Linked DNA regions of Homo sapiens: all the other regions are linked to region 5. The links are contacts of gene promoters, found by promoter capture Hi-C in human tissues and cell types (Jung and others, 2019). All regions are on one chromosome and are shown on one strand. The core of a region is centred on a gene start or on the middle of the fragment in contact, and the rest is flanking DNA. Distances in the headings are between cores, read along the strand shown.

Region 1 (2,700 bases), core at 199-2,698, 450 kb after region 5:
AATACTGAGATATATTAGAATTATAGGAATTTTATATAATTTTGTGATACATACAAATAACATATAAATATAACCCAAAGAAAGTTAAACACCGTTTTATATTTGACAATGTTTCCTGCAGTTTTTATGTACCAAATAAGCTAGATACGTCTCTTTTGGACTTCAGGGAACCTAATATCTAAAAAGGTCAATCAAGTCAAAAAAAGATTAGAGTATGATTTTGAAAAGTTAATCAAATATCAAAGGTTTAAAACACTTTTCATCACAAAATAGAACCACAGTTTATTTTAGTCAAAGTGATTAACTCAAATATTTCAAAAAAGCAAAACTCCATTAGTCTTTTATAGAGAGGAGACAGCTTTCCAAACAACAAAAACCAAAAAAGACAGCATGAAGCCAGCTGAATCTGTCTCTTCTCTCTCCCTTTTTCCTGCAGGCAAATGAAAATCTTGCTTAAAAGGGAAAACCATATGCTACCTCTGCATTAGTGTATTAATGCTAAAGTTCATTTTAATAAAATTTTATAAGGAAATCTATCGAATTGTAACCCATTTGACCATAAGGTAAGAATTTTATAAACCTTTTATAACCCTTTATAATTTTTTGTTAAAGAACAGATCAATACTCCAAGAAAACCCTGTTGTTCTGACACATGGGCCCAAATTCTGGCCCTGCATCAATATGATTTTATTTTAATGTGTAATTTATGGGAAAACTAAATAATAATCTTAATTTTAGCCAACTTGCTCACACACAGAATTTTCTTAATAATATTAATTTGTCACAAACCTTCTTCAACTTGCTTAAACCATCAGTTTTATTCTACCTTTCTTTTAACCTAAGACAAGCTTTAAACCTGCAAACCCTGAAAATCTCAGACAGGTCTCAGTTAATTTAGAAAGTTTATTTAGCCAAGGTTGAGGACAGACGCCCGAGATACAGCCTCAGGAGGTCTTGATAACATGTGCCCAAGGTGGTCAAGGCACAGCTTGGTTTTTTACTTTTAGGGAGATATGAGGCATCAATCAATACATGTAAGATGTACTATACGTTGGTTCCCTCTGGAAAAATGGGATAACTCAAGCAGGGAGGGGGCTTCCAGGTCACAGGTAGGTGAGAGACAAATGGGTTGCATTCTTTTTTTTCTTCTGCTTTTTTAAATTATTATTTGTTTTATTATTATACTTTAACTTCTGAGATACCTGTGCAGAACATACAGGTTTATTACATAGGTATACACGTGCCATGGTGGTTTGCTGCACCCATCAACCCATCATCTACATTAGTTATTTCTGCTAATGCTATCCCTCCCCTAGTCCCCCACCCCCTGACAGGCCCCAGTGTGTGATGTTCCCCTCCCTCTGTCCATGTGTTCTCATTTTTCAACTCCCACTTACGAGTGAGAACATGCGATGTTTGGTTTTCTGTTCTTGTGTTAGTTTGCTGAGAATGATGGTTTCCAGCTTCATCCATGTCCCTGCAAAGGACATGAACTCATCCTTTTTTATGGCTGCATAGTATTCCATGGTGTATATGTGCCACTTTTTCTTTATGCAGCCTGTCATTGATGGGCATTTGGGTTGGTTCCAAGTCTTTGCTATTGTGAACAGTGCTGCAATAAACATACGTGTGCATGTGTCTTTATAGCAGCATGATTTATAATCCTTTAGGTATATACATAGTAATGGGATTGCTGGGTCAAATGGTATTTCTGGTTCTAGATCCTTGAGGAATTGCCACACTGTCTTCCACAATGGTTGAACTAATTTACATTCCCACCAACAGTGTAAAAGCATTCCTATTTCTCCACATCCTCTCCAGCACCTGTTGTTTCCTGACTTTTTAATGATTGCCATTCTAACTGGTGTGAGATGGTATCTCATTGTGGTTTTGATTTGCATTTCTCTAACGACCAGTGATGATGAGCTTTTTTCATATGTTTGTTGGCTGCATAAATATCTTCTTTTGCAAAATGTCTGTTCATATCCTTTGCCCACTTTTTGATGGGGTTGTTTGTTTTTTTCTTGTAAATTTGTTTAAGTTCTTTGTAGATTCTGGATATTAGCCCTTTGTCAGATGGATAGATGGTGAAAATTTTCTCCCATTCTGTCGGTTGCCTGTTCACTCTGATGGTAGTTTCTTTTGCTGTGCAGAAGCTCTTTAATTAAATTAGGTCCCATTTGTCAATTTTGGCTTCTGTTGCCATTGCTTTTGGTGTTTTAGTCATGAAGCCTTTGCCCATGCCTATGTCCTGAATGGTATCTTTTGAGTTTCTGATTAGCCTTTCCAAGGGAGGCAAACAGATGCGCATTTATCTCAGTGAGCAGAGGAATGACTTTGGATAGAATGGAAAGCAGGTTTGCCTTAAGCAGTTCCCAGCTTGACTTTTCCCTTTAGCGTAGTGATTTTGGGGCCCCAAGATTTCCAAGATTTATTTTCCTTTTACAAACCCTTTAAATTAGACAAATTACTTTTTCTTAAAATCCACATTCCCATGCCTTTTTACCAAAAACATATAATTTTTATTTTTAGCATAAGCAAGTATAATTATGTATCAGGTGCAGAGTCTAGGACATAGGACAGAACTGCAGATAATGTCTTAACTCTTTCTAGCATAGCTAGGGCTCATGGCTAACACCATATGTACCCAAACCTCACCAAGAATCTATTACTTTTTTTTTTTTTTTTTTGAGACAGAGT
Region 2 (2,700 bases), core at 115-2,614, 470 kb after region 5:
TTTTGTTTTAGGAGCTGTTTGGTGCACTGTAGGGCATTTAGCAGCACCTCTGTCCTCTACCCACTAGATGCTGGTAGCACACCTACCCCAAATTGTGGCATCCAAAAATGTCTCCAGACATGGCCAAAATGTCCCCTTGGGTGGACATTTCCAGTCGAGAACCACTGCTATATAAAGAACAATAGGTGGGAGGTAGGAGGCTTGGGGTCTAGGCACGGCTCCACCCTCATTGCTGGACACTCCTTGGTAAGTTTCTTGATCCCTTTGGGCCTTGCTTTTCTTATTCATTACATGGAGATGACACCTACCCTACCTCCTGGAGCTGTTACAAGAGTCAAACCTATCAAAGGATACAAAAGGTACCATAGAAAGCTCTGAGATCTCCCAGTCCCACCCCCACAAATCCTGTCCATATTCTCCTGGGTCAGGAAACCCAGCTTCGAAGAAATGAATGGAGAAAAGGAACAAGAAAAGAAAACTAACATGAATGGTTACCATGGCCAAACATGTTACATTCATTCTTTCCTTTGGTGATCACCACACTACCAGGCTAGTTGCTGTCATTCCCATTTTACAGGTAATGCAACTGAGGCCTAAAAGGGTTTGAAAATGAGCAAGCCAGGCGGGCACGGTGGCACTTTGGGAGACCGAGGTGGGTGGATCACTTGAGGTCAGGAGTTAGAGACCAGCCTGACCAACATGGTGTAACCCTATCTCTACTGAAAATAGAAAAATTAGCCGGGCGTGGTCGTGCACACCTGTAATCCCAGGAGGCTGAGGCAGGAGGATTGCTTGAATCCAGGAGGGAGAGATTGCAGTGAGCCGAGATCATGCCACTGCACTCCAGTCTGGGCAAGAGAGTGAGACTCCGTCTCAAAAAAAAAAAAAAAAAAAACTAACAACAATTAGCCAAACATGGTGGCAGGCACCTGTAATGCCAGCTACTCAGGAGGTTGAGGCAGGAGAATCGCTGGTACCCGTGAGGCGGAGGTTGCAGTGAGCCGAGATAGTGCCACTGCACTCCAGCCTGGGTGACAGAGACTCCATCTCAAAAAAAAAAAGAAAATGAGCAAGCCCAGACTGCCTCCAAGGCATATGTGGGTTCTCCTGATTCCTGCAGAAATAATCCACTTCGGAGGGGTGGAAGCAGCAAGTTACGGGGCACCCACTTGTTCTAGGCATTATGATAGTGAGAGTGAGAATATTATTCCCCTTGTGTAGATGAGAAAATTGAAGCAGAGAGAGGTTGAGTAACTTACCCAAAGTGACTTGGACAGATTTGTACCCAGTTTAGATTCTGCCTTTTCCGTAACCCCCCACACCAGAGTGACATTTAAACTCAACAGATGCTTCACAGAGAATCTCTTCCCTATGCCAAGGTGAAAGTCACACAAAGGTCATAAGCACCTTTATCTGTGACCACACAAACTATCTCCTGCTGTACCCCTCCCCACATGCATGCGCACACATGACCCTACATGAAGCCAAACCTCCCCAGGTCAGGGAAGACACCCCAGACCTCCTCCAACTGTGCTCAGAGTTGATCACACACCTTTGGTTGAGCTTCATAAGTCACCACAGTGGCTACCGGGCTAGATTTGTCAGACAGCTCCCTATAAACACTCACAGACAGCAAGGCAAGGCATCTCAGTGTTCCCAGCTGGCATTTCCAGAGGGCTCTCTGCCCCGGGCGCTCACTGTGCATTCCTCTCAAAACCCCACTCAGCTCTTGCTCCCTTCCCCATTTCTTATGATGGATGAAACAGACCACAAGTGAATCCCAGAAGCTGAAGTCAACCTCTCATTCAGCAAACAGTTACACCCAACCGACCCAGCATGGGTACTAAGACCTCAGAAATGAAAAAGACACAGGCCCCTGTGCCTCAGTTTCTCTCTATGAAAGTAGGACCAAGTGCAGTGGCTCGCACTTTAATCCCAGCGCTTTGGGAGGCTGAGGCAGGAGGACCACTTGAGTCCAGGAGTTTGAGACCAGCCTGGGCAACAGAGCAAGACCTCATCTCTACAAAAAAAAAAAATAATAATAATTAGCTGGGTGTGGTAGCATTTGCTATATTCCTAGCTACTCACAAGGCTGAGGCAGTAGTAGCTCTTGGGCCCAGGAGGTAGAGGCTGCAGTGAGCTCTGATAGCCCCACTGCACTCCAACCTGGGTGACAGAGCGAGATTCTGTCTTAAAAAAAAAAGAAAAAAGAAAGAAAGAAAGAAAGAAAAGAAAATGGGGCTAGTGAGAGCACCTACCTCATAGAGTCACAGTGAAGATTAAATGAGATAATGCACTTAACAAAATGTCCTGCACACAGTAGGTACTCAATAAACTGAAGTTCTGGCGTACAACCTTAAAGGTTTGCACCGTTTATACTCTTTCGCAGGGTCCCACCAAGGGCTAAAGGCACACATGAGCTGCGGAGCTGAGGTCGTGACTGTGGGACTTCGGCAAATCCTGTCACCTCTTCAAAAAGGGCTCTTACCAGGTTCAAATGCAGTAATACATACCAAATGCATCGCCCAGGGCTTGGCACTAGTCGTTGTTTTATGACTGTTGCTATCACTTTTGACTAACATGTATTAGGTACTGTTCCAAGCACTTCATGTGTACTAACCCATTTAATCTTGAGACAGCTCTAGGTAGTACTATTATTTTATTATTGTGCTAATCATCATCTCTACTTACAGATAAGAA
Region 3 (2,700 bases), core at 41-2,540, 410 kb after region 5:
GATAAAGAAAATGTAGTACATACACACCATGGAATACTACCCAGCCATAAAAAAGAATGAAATCATGTCCTTTGTGGCAACATGGATGCAGCTGGAGGCCATTATCCAAAGCCAATTAACACGGGAACAGAAAAGCAAATACCACACGTTCTCACTTATATGTGGGAGCTAAACATTGAGTACACGTGGACACAAAGAAGGGAACAATAGACGCTGAGAAACACAAGAGAGGTGGGCATGGGTTGAAACGCTATGTATTGGGTCCTGTGCTCACCCCCTGGGTGGCGGGATCTGTACTGTAAATCTCAGTATCACGCAATATACCCATGTAACAAACCTGTAAATGCAACCCCAAATCTAAAAGTTGAAATTATTTTCTCAAAAGACTCTTGATTTTATTCTGAAAGTTATGAAGAGCCATTGAAGTATTTTAAAGCAGGAAAGTCAAGATCAAAGTTACATTTTTAAAAGATCATGCTGACTGTAGCGTGGAAGATGGATTATAGAGAGGGTCAGAAGAGGGCAAGGAGATGGATGAGGACTGTCCTCTCAGCCACACTTGGGGAAGTTTCCTTTTCGGGGACAACATTTGCCATGTAATTAAAGACAGCAGAGTGGTACCAGGCCTCAAAAATGGGACATGCCAATCCACTGACACCGGGAGCTCTGGAGCCCCTCAAAATGCCAAAGGCCAACTCAGTCCCCAATTTTCCCCAGGATGTGAGAGCCCATGGCTGACTGCCCAGTGGGGAACCTGATTTAGCCCTGGACCATTTCATTTCATGTCCAGAAAGCATCAGGCAGCAGAGATATGTCCTCAGGTTGCCCCATCCTGGCAAGAGGACATCTTGAGCGGCGGCCCATCCATTTCCGCCACCCCCTGAGCTGACACACAAAGAGGCTGTGGCCCTGCAGAGAGCCAAGCCGCGTGGCCGCCGCATTGTGAGTCATCCCAGCTGGTTCCAACTATTTTCCCCAGGAGGCAGAGGAGTCGGACGGAAGTGTGCCCTGGCCAAGCGAGAGACCACCAGCAGGACTGCCAGGGGCTGCCAGCCGTGACCGAAGGGAGGATGGATGCCCACATCTACCCCTCTGACCTTGTGGAAAGGAAGAGAGCAGCAGGAAGGGTCTTGCTCACTTCCGCAAGGCTGAGTGGCCAACGGGTCTGGGTCTGATACAAGATACCACAGAACGGTGACCAGGGCAGGAGCATAAAGCTCAAGGGAGCATCACTGGGGGTTAAGGTTGGCAAATGAAACAGCTAACTACTTACGGAGCCCAGGCTCCAGGCCAGGAGCTGTGCTAAGCACTTCACATCATCATCATCATGTCTGCTAGAATACTTTATAGCTATTATTCCATTTAATCCACTACAACACGGATCAGCTTGTGGCTTGTCTTTGCACAGCCCATGAGCTAAGAATGGTTTTTCATTTTTAAAGAGTTTTAGAAAAAAACAAAGAAAGATAGGTCATAGAAGTCATTTGTGGCCTGTAAAGCCTAAAATATTTACTGTCTAGCTCTTTACAGGAAAAGTATGCCAAAACCCTTGCACTGGTTCAATTAGGACAAGGTATATGTGTGTGCATATGTGTGTGCATGTATGTGTGTGTCTGTTCTACTTCTATATTCCTCAATGCCTAGAAGAGGTCATGATACACCAAAGGTGCTCAATAAATATCAAGTGAATTAATGAATTAATGAGCAAATGAATTAACTTTTATTATCACCCAATGAGATAGATACTATCATCAGCCCCATTTTACTGATGAGGTTACTGAGGCTCACAGTGATAAAATGACTTGCAGAAATCACAGAGGTAACAAACACCGGAGCTGCAATTCAAATTCAGGCAGTTTGTCATTCAAGGCTTGGTTTTTTTAAAAAGCCCATATCCTAAAAACTGAAAATCTGGACTATGTCTCGTGCCGTGACTCTCAAACTTTCCTGCGCGTGACTATCATCTGGGATATTTGTTAAAATTCATGTTCCCAGGCCTTGCCTTCTTGGATTCTGATTCTATAAATCAGAATGAAACCCAGGAGTCTGTGTAGGGGAAGATGAGAGTAAATGAGGTGGCTACCAGGGGTAAGAAGCTTTGGGGAGAAGACTAGGAGGGAACATAAGTGTATTAGCCTGTTCTCATGCTACTAATAAAGACATACCCGAGACTGGGTAATATATAAAGGAAAGAGGTTTAATGGATTCACAGTTCCACGTGGCCGGGGAAGCCTCACAATCATGGCAGAAGACAAAGGAAGAGCAAAGGGATGTTTTACATGGCAGCAGGCAAGAGGACCTGTGCAGGGGAGCTGCCCTTTATAAAACCATCACATCTCATGAGACTTATTCACTATAACAAGAAGAGCATGGGAAAGACCCACCCCCATGATTCAATTACCTCCCACCGGATCCCTCCCACGAGATGTGAGAATTATGGGAGCTACAATTCAAGATAAGACTTGGGAGGGGATGCAGCCAAACCATATCAATAAGTTTCTACTGTGTGCTGTGCAATGTAAACATACCTCTTCATCTCCCTACAGTGTCTTCAGTAACAAGTCCATCTTCCCTCAGTACCTAGTGGGGAAGGCTCTCTCGAATGGGACTCAGGGCTATGTATGACCCCCACAGAAAACCTATATCTGGGTTATAAAACTAACCACTGCAGGAAAGAGATTTGGTCTTTTGGGCAAAAGA
Region 4 (2,700 bases), core at 192-2,691, 390 kb after region 5:
GGAGCTCTGCCAAGGGAATGGAAGGGGGACTTTTTATAGGACAAACATAAAAGTAAAGCAAAGAATATTTGATTGGTTACAGTACACAGTTGTCTTATTTAGTCTATACTGTTGAAAAGTTTCTAGTTATATAATTATAAGTTTGTTGGCTGCTTCTGTTTGGTTGAGCTTCAGTTCTGTTATTCTTTAATACAGTCTTTTATAAGAAATAGCACAAGTTAAGTTTCACTTATGTTTGCAAATCAAACAAGGTTAAGGTCACTTATTGAGACCAAACTGGCTTTGTTTGCTCAGGGATTCTTCCCACTTGGTTTTCATTTTAATTTACTTTAACAATAGCTTTCCTTGGCATAACACCAAAAACCAGGGAGGAAAAGGAATGAAAAGACTTACAGACCTAATCATACAAACAGTTTAAACTCCTTCATGATAAAAGACATTGTCAATATATTTAAAGCAAGCATACTGTAAAAAACATGAACACACACACAAAATACTGAGTTCATGCCTGTATTAGCCCATTCTCATGATGCTATGGAGAAATACCCAACAGTGGGTAATTTATAAAGGAAAGAGGTTTAATTGACTCACAGTTCAGCATGGCTGGGGATACCTCAGGCAACTTACAAGCATGGTGGAAGGGGAAGTAAATACGTCCTTATTCACATGGCGGCAGCAAAAAGAAGTGCAAGCAAAAAGGGGGAAAAGCCCCTTATAAATCTACCAGATCTCATGAGAACTCACTATCACAAGAACAGCAAGAGGGAAACTGCCCCCATGATTCAATTACCTCCCACCCGGTCCCTCCCACATACGTGGGGATTATGGGAACTACAATTCAAGATGAGATTTGGGTGTGGACACAGCCAAACCTTATCCATACTCAATCTATAAAGAGTAGTTAAAAAGAAAAAAGAAAAAGAAGAACACCCCTGTAAAAATTTGCAAAGAATTTGAAGAGGCAATTTATAAAATAAGAACCACTAATGATAATAAACATCTGAAAACATATTAAAGCTTATTATTACTTCAAGAGATGCAAAGTAAAACAACATGAGGTTATTCTATCTTGCCAGATGTCACTGACACACAGTGTGAGTGAGAGTGTGGGGAAATGTGTACACTCGTACATACTACTAGTAGTAGTTTAAATTCACATAAACTTTTTAGAAGGGAAGTTAGCAATAGCTATTAATACACCTACCATTTGACTCAGCAATCCTAGTTCTAGGCATTTATCATGTTTTGAATTGTTGACAAACCATACAAATATATTTGAACAAAGGTATTGCAGCCTTGTTTGATAACAGTAAATTACTGGAACTGTTCTAAATGCTCATCAATAAGAAATGTATTAAATAAATTATTGTACCTCCGTAAAATGGAATACTATGAAGCTATTTGAAAATAATGAGTTAGATCTGTATGGACTCATGGCTAAGATATCTACCTTAGATTTTTAAGTGAAAATAGGAGGTATAGTATAATTCCATCTTGTTTTAAAAGAATTTTCACTATCTAAATTGTAAATATCTGATTTAATGAAGGTTTTTCAACGATTATTGCTATGGTTTGGATACCATGGTCAGTTGTAAGCCTCAATGTTGAAGGTGGGGCCTGGTGGGAGGTGATTGGAACTTTCACGAATGGTTTAGCACCATCCCCTTGGTGCTGTTCTCATGGGAGTGAGTGAGTGAGTTAATATGAGATCTGTTTAAGAGCATGTGGCACCTCCCCATTCTCTCTCTTCCTCCTGCTCCCTCCAGCCATGTAAGACATGCCTGCTTCCACTTCATCTTCTGCTGTGATTGTAAGTTTCCTGAGGCCTCCCCAGAAGCAGAAGCCACTGTGCTTCCTATACTGTGAACCGATTAAACCTCTTTTATTTATAAATTACCCAGTCTCAGGTATTTCTTCACAGCAGTGCAAGGATGAACTAATACAATTATACATCAATTTTATTATCAGAAAACAACATTTACACTTCATAAAATAAAACAAAAGGGTTTTCTTATAGGTGATTTATGCATAAGTATGAAAAGGAGGGTATTGAATCCTGGAATAAGTTCACATTACTCAGGAGAATACAAAATATTTTCTTCTGCAAACCTTAAGCCCAGTACTTAGTAGTTGTACTCATTAAATAGTTTGGGGATGAATAGATAAATAAATCAATGGATGGATGTATAGATGGATGGATGGATATTGAGGTCACAAAGGCAGTTTGTTGTTGTTGTTGTTTTAATTAGTGACCTAAATAATCCAAGATTGAAAGTCACTCTGAAGTAGCTGGTCCTCCAAAAATGTCAGGATTATTGGCTACCATGGATTTTGGAGTTTGGTCCTTACGCACAAACACCTGATGAGGGATCCAGATGATGTGGACAGACAAGGCTTACAAGAGCTCTGCTTAGCTTAAGACAAAACTCTCCCATACATGGGTTCCAAATAACCCCTAAGTGATGATCCCAGAACTAGCCTTCTGTGATTTATTCCTGTAGACATGAAGGAAATGAAGAAATGAATCAAGGAGACAGAAGGAGACCTTATGATATGAGAGATCATGCCTGGGGAAGCAACATTGTTTTTGGAAGATTAACTTTTCTTTTTGGTTTACACATATGCTGCTAGAGTTATAAAAGGAACTAACTGATGCCAATAGTATCCCCAAGTCCAGAAAAGGCTAAACTGTGTAACAAA
Region 5 (2,700 bases), core at 38-2,537:
AAAGAGAAGAGTGGGGCCGCATGCCGTGGCTCACGCCTGTAATCCCAGCACTTTGGGAGGCCGAGGCAGGCAGATCATTTGAGGTCAGGAGTTTGAGACCGACCTGGCCAATGTGGTGAAACCCCGTCTCTACTAAAAATACAAAAATTAGCCAGACGTGGTGGTGCATGCCTGTAGTCCCAGCTACTCAGGAGGCTGAGGCAGGAGAACCGCTTGAACCCTGGAGGTGAAGGCTACAGTGAGTGGAGATCGCGCCACTACACTGTCTCAAAGAAAAAGAAAAGAAAGAGAAGAGCAAAGCGCTAGGACTAAAACCCACAGATGTTAAAATTTAGTGAAATGAATGTTAGTCATCTCCATCAGTATTTAATAACAGTTGGGCAGCAGATAGCCAAAGGCTGCAAACTCTGACAGTAATAACGATGCTAATAATATCAACAGCCTTTTCTTTATTCATTCAACAAATATTTACTGAGCACCTATCACCAGGTAAGCAAAGTAAATTATGTGGAGTTTAGAAGAAAATTAATGCTATGAAGGAAAATAAAGCCTGGAAGGAGGATGAGGAACGCCTGAGAGGGGGATGGGGCACTTACAAATTTAAACAAAGTGGCCAGGAAAGGCCCAACTGTGGAAGTGACATTTGGGCAAAGACTGGAACGAGCTAAGGGGTGAACCCTGAGTCCACCTGGGTGAAGAGCCTCCCTAACAGGGGAAACCACAAGTGTAGAGGCCCAGACATTGTATTGGAGGACTGGCAGGGACACCAGTGTGGCTGGAGCAGGGTGAGTGGAGATCTTTCTCCCCTAGGAGATGAGGCCAGGGTGGTGATGCGTGAGGGGCTCCTGCCTTCTAGGTACTGAGCTGCTCGTTTTGCATAAATCCTCTTATTTTATCCCATCCCCCTCTCAGGCGTTCCTCATCATCCTTCCAGGTTTTATTTTTCTTCATATCATTAATTATCTTCTAAATTCCACATAATTTACTTTGCTTACAACACCCCCATGAGTTAGATGCCATGTAACAGGCATGGAAACTGAACCTCAGAAAGAGTAAGTGACATTCTCAAGGCCATACAGCTGTTCAAGACAGAGCTGGGATTCAAATTCCAATCTATAGGCACTGAGTTCAGAGCCCTCCTGGGCCATACCCAGCACCCCACACTGAGTTTTGTTTCTAGCCCCTCAAGCAAACTCAGCAAGGGCTGCCAGGCAGGGCCCCCTCTTACTCAACAATGGCCCATTCTTCTACAGGGTCACCCCTGGTCCTCTAGAACCCCAGAACTCAGAACTTTGCTGCTGAGGCTGCTGTGGCCTCTGTGTGCCCAGGAAGGGACTTCATTTCTGCCTGTGGATTCTTTAGAATGCCCAGTCGTCTGCGGGTCCTGCCCTGATCACAAGGAGAAGCCAGGAGCCTCCTCTTCAGGCTACAACCTTCCTTCTTAAGGGCCACAGAGTTTGTGGCCCCACCCCCAGCACAGCCCCACCTTGGCCCCAGGAACCCTGGGAGTGGCCTTGGCTTCCTGCAGGTATGAGCTTCAGTGAAAATGGGAAATCTGACTGATGGGCCCTGCCTTGGGAGGCTTTTCTCTACCAGGAGTCACCAGTTTAAGTTTTAAGTGTCAGTTTTGGTGTATAGATGGCTACACATTAGGATCAACTTGAGGATTTTAAAAAATAATAATAATGCCCAGACTCACCCAACCCCAGATCAATTAAATTAGAACCTACTGGGTTTGGGTTTGAACATCAGTATTTTTTATTAAACTCTCCAAGAGATTCTCAGCATAGTCATGGTTGAGAACCACTGAAATGAACCAATGGGGTTTGCTGTAAGAGTTAAATTAGGCCATTCATTCATTCATTCAACAAACATTCATTGAGTTCCAAATCTGGTACAGGCACTGTTCTGAAGGGGAGAAAACAGCTGTGAACAATGGTATTTACATTAAAAAGTTCAAAATGACAACAACAACAAAGTACACTCATAAATAATAATACAAAATATGATGCAAACAATGGTGATATGGCAGAGAGTGCTGAAAGCTGAGATGGGGTGAGACAGAGTGGCCCGGGAAGACCCTTCTGATGAGCGTGGATTCGAGCTAGGACCCAGAGAACCAGAAAAGGCTGACGATGTGAGGGAAGGGTGCCCCAGACAGAGGCAAAGGCCCCGGGTAGGGTGTGCTTGGGAAAGGGAAGAGGCCAGTGTGGCTCCCCAGAGTGCGGGAGGAGAGAGAGAGAGGAGGGCGATAAGGTCAGATGGGTCCAGAGCCAGTGGGGCCTGGTAGACCACAGAGAACAGTTTGGCTGGTGTGCGGTTTTGCGAATGGATTGTAAAAAAAAAAGAGGCAGAAGCTTTTTTTTGCACAAAAGTGAGCACCTTTTGATAGGCACAGTGGTGTGATGGAATTCCTGTGTCGAAAGGAAATCTCTGCTGGGCACGGTGGCTCACGCCTGCAATCTCAGCACTTTGGGAGGCCCAGGCAGGTGGATCACCTGAGGTCAGGAGTTTGAGACCAGCCTGGCCAACATGGTGAAATCCCGTTTCTACTAAAAATACAAAAATTAGCCGGGCATGGTGGCGGGTGCCTGTAGTCCCAGCTGCTAGGGAGGTTGAAGCAGGAGAATCGCTTAAACCCAGGAGGCGGAGGCTGCAGTGAGCCAAGATCATGTGATTGCACTCCAGCCTGGGCAACAA

The links. The method cuts DNA at HindIII sites, captures the fragments that hold promoters and counts their contacts. A contact is called where the count stands out against the background at its distance.
Region 1: a contact is called between a fragment that was not itself captured here and the fragment with the promoter of PDILT in region 5, in 2 of the 25 tissues and cell types used here (dorsolateral prefrontal cortex and lymphoblastoid cells).
Region 2: a fragment that was not itself captured here is called in contact with the fragment with the promoter of PDILT in region 5 in 3 of the 25 tissues and cell types used here (heart right ventricle, mesendoderm cells and thymus).
Region 3: a contact is called between a fragment that was not itself captured here and the fragment with the promoter of PDILT in region 5, in 1 of the 25 tissues and cell types used here (mesendoderm cells).
Region 4: a fragment that was not itself captured here is called in contact with the fragment with the promoter of PDILT in region 5 in 2 of the 25 tissues and cell types used here (lymphoblastoid cells and mesendoderm cells).

Annotation. Positions count from the first base shown.
Region 1 is chr16:19,954,892-19,957,591 of GRCh38, reverse strand. No RefSeq gene overlaps it. Among named protein-coding and RNA genes, the nearest start is that of GPRC5B, 71 kb to the right of the region's middle. The HindIII fragment of the contact is 3,423 bases long and covers 1-2,700 here.
Region 2 is chr16:19,930,594-19,933,293 of GRCh38, reverse strand. No RefSeq gene overlaps it. Among named protein-coding and RNA genes, the nearest start is that of GPRC5B, 47 kb to the right of the region's middle. The HindIII fragment of the contact is 4,266 bases long and covers 1-2,700 here.
Region 3 is chr16:19,993,218-19,995,917 of GRCh38, reverse strand. No RefSeq gene overlaps it. Among named protein-coding and RNA genes, the nearest start is that of GPR139, 79 kb to the left of the region's middle. The HindIII fragment of the contact is 6,383 bases long and covers 1-2,700 here.
Region 4 is chr16:20,011,822-20,014,521 of GRCh38, reverse strand. No RefSeq gene overlaps it. Among named protein-coding and RNA genes, the nearest start is that of GPR139, 61 kb to the left of the region's middle. The HindIII fragment of the contact is 3,127 bases long and covers 1-2,700 here.
Region 5 is chr16:20,403,324-20,406,023 of GRCh38, reverse strand. PDILT (protein disulfide isomerase like, testis expressed) reads left to right here and starts at 1,287. Exons shown (of 12, transcript NM_174924.2): 1 at 1,287-1,528. The HindIII fragment of the contact is 3,912 bases long and covers 1-2,700 here.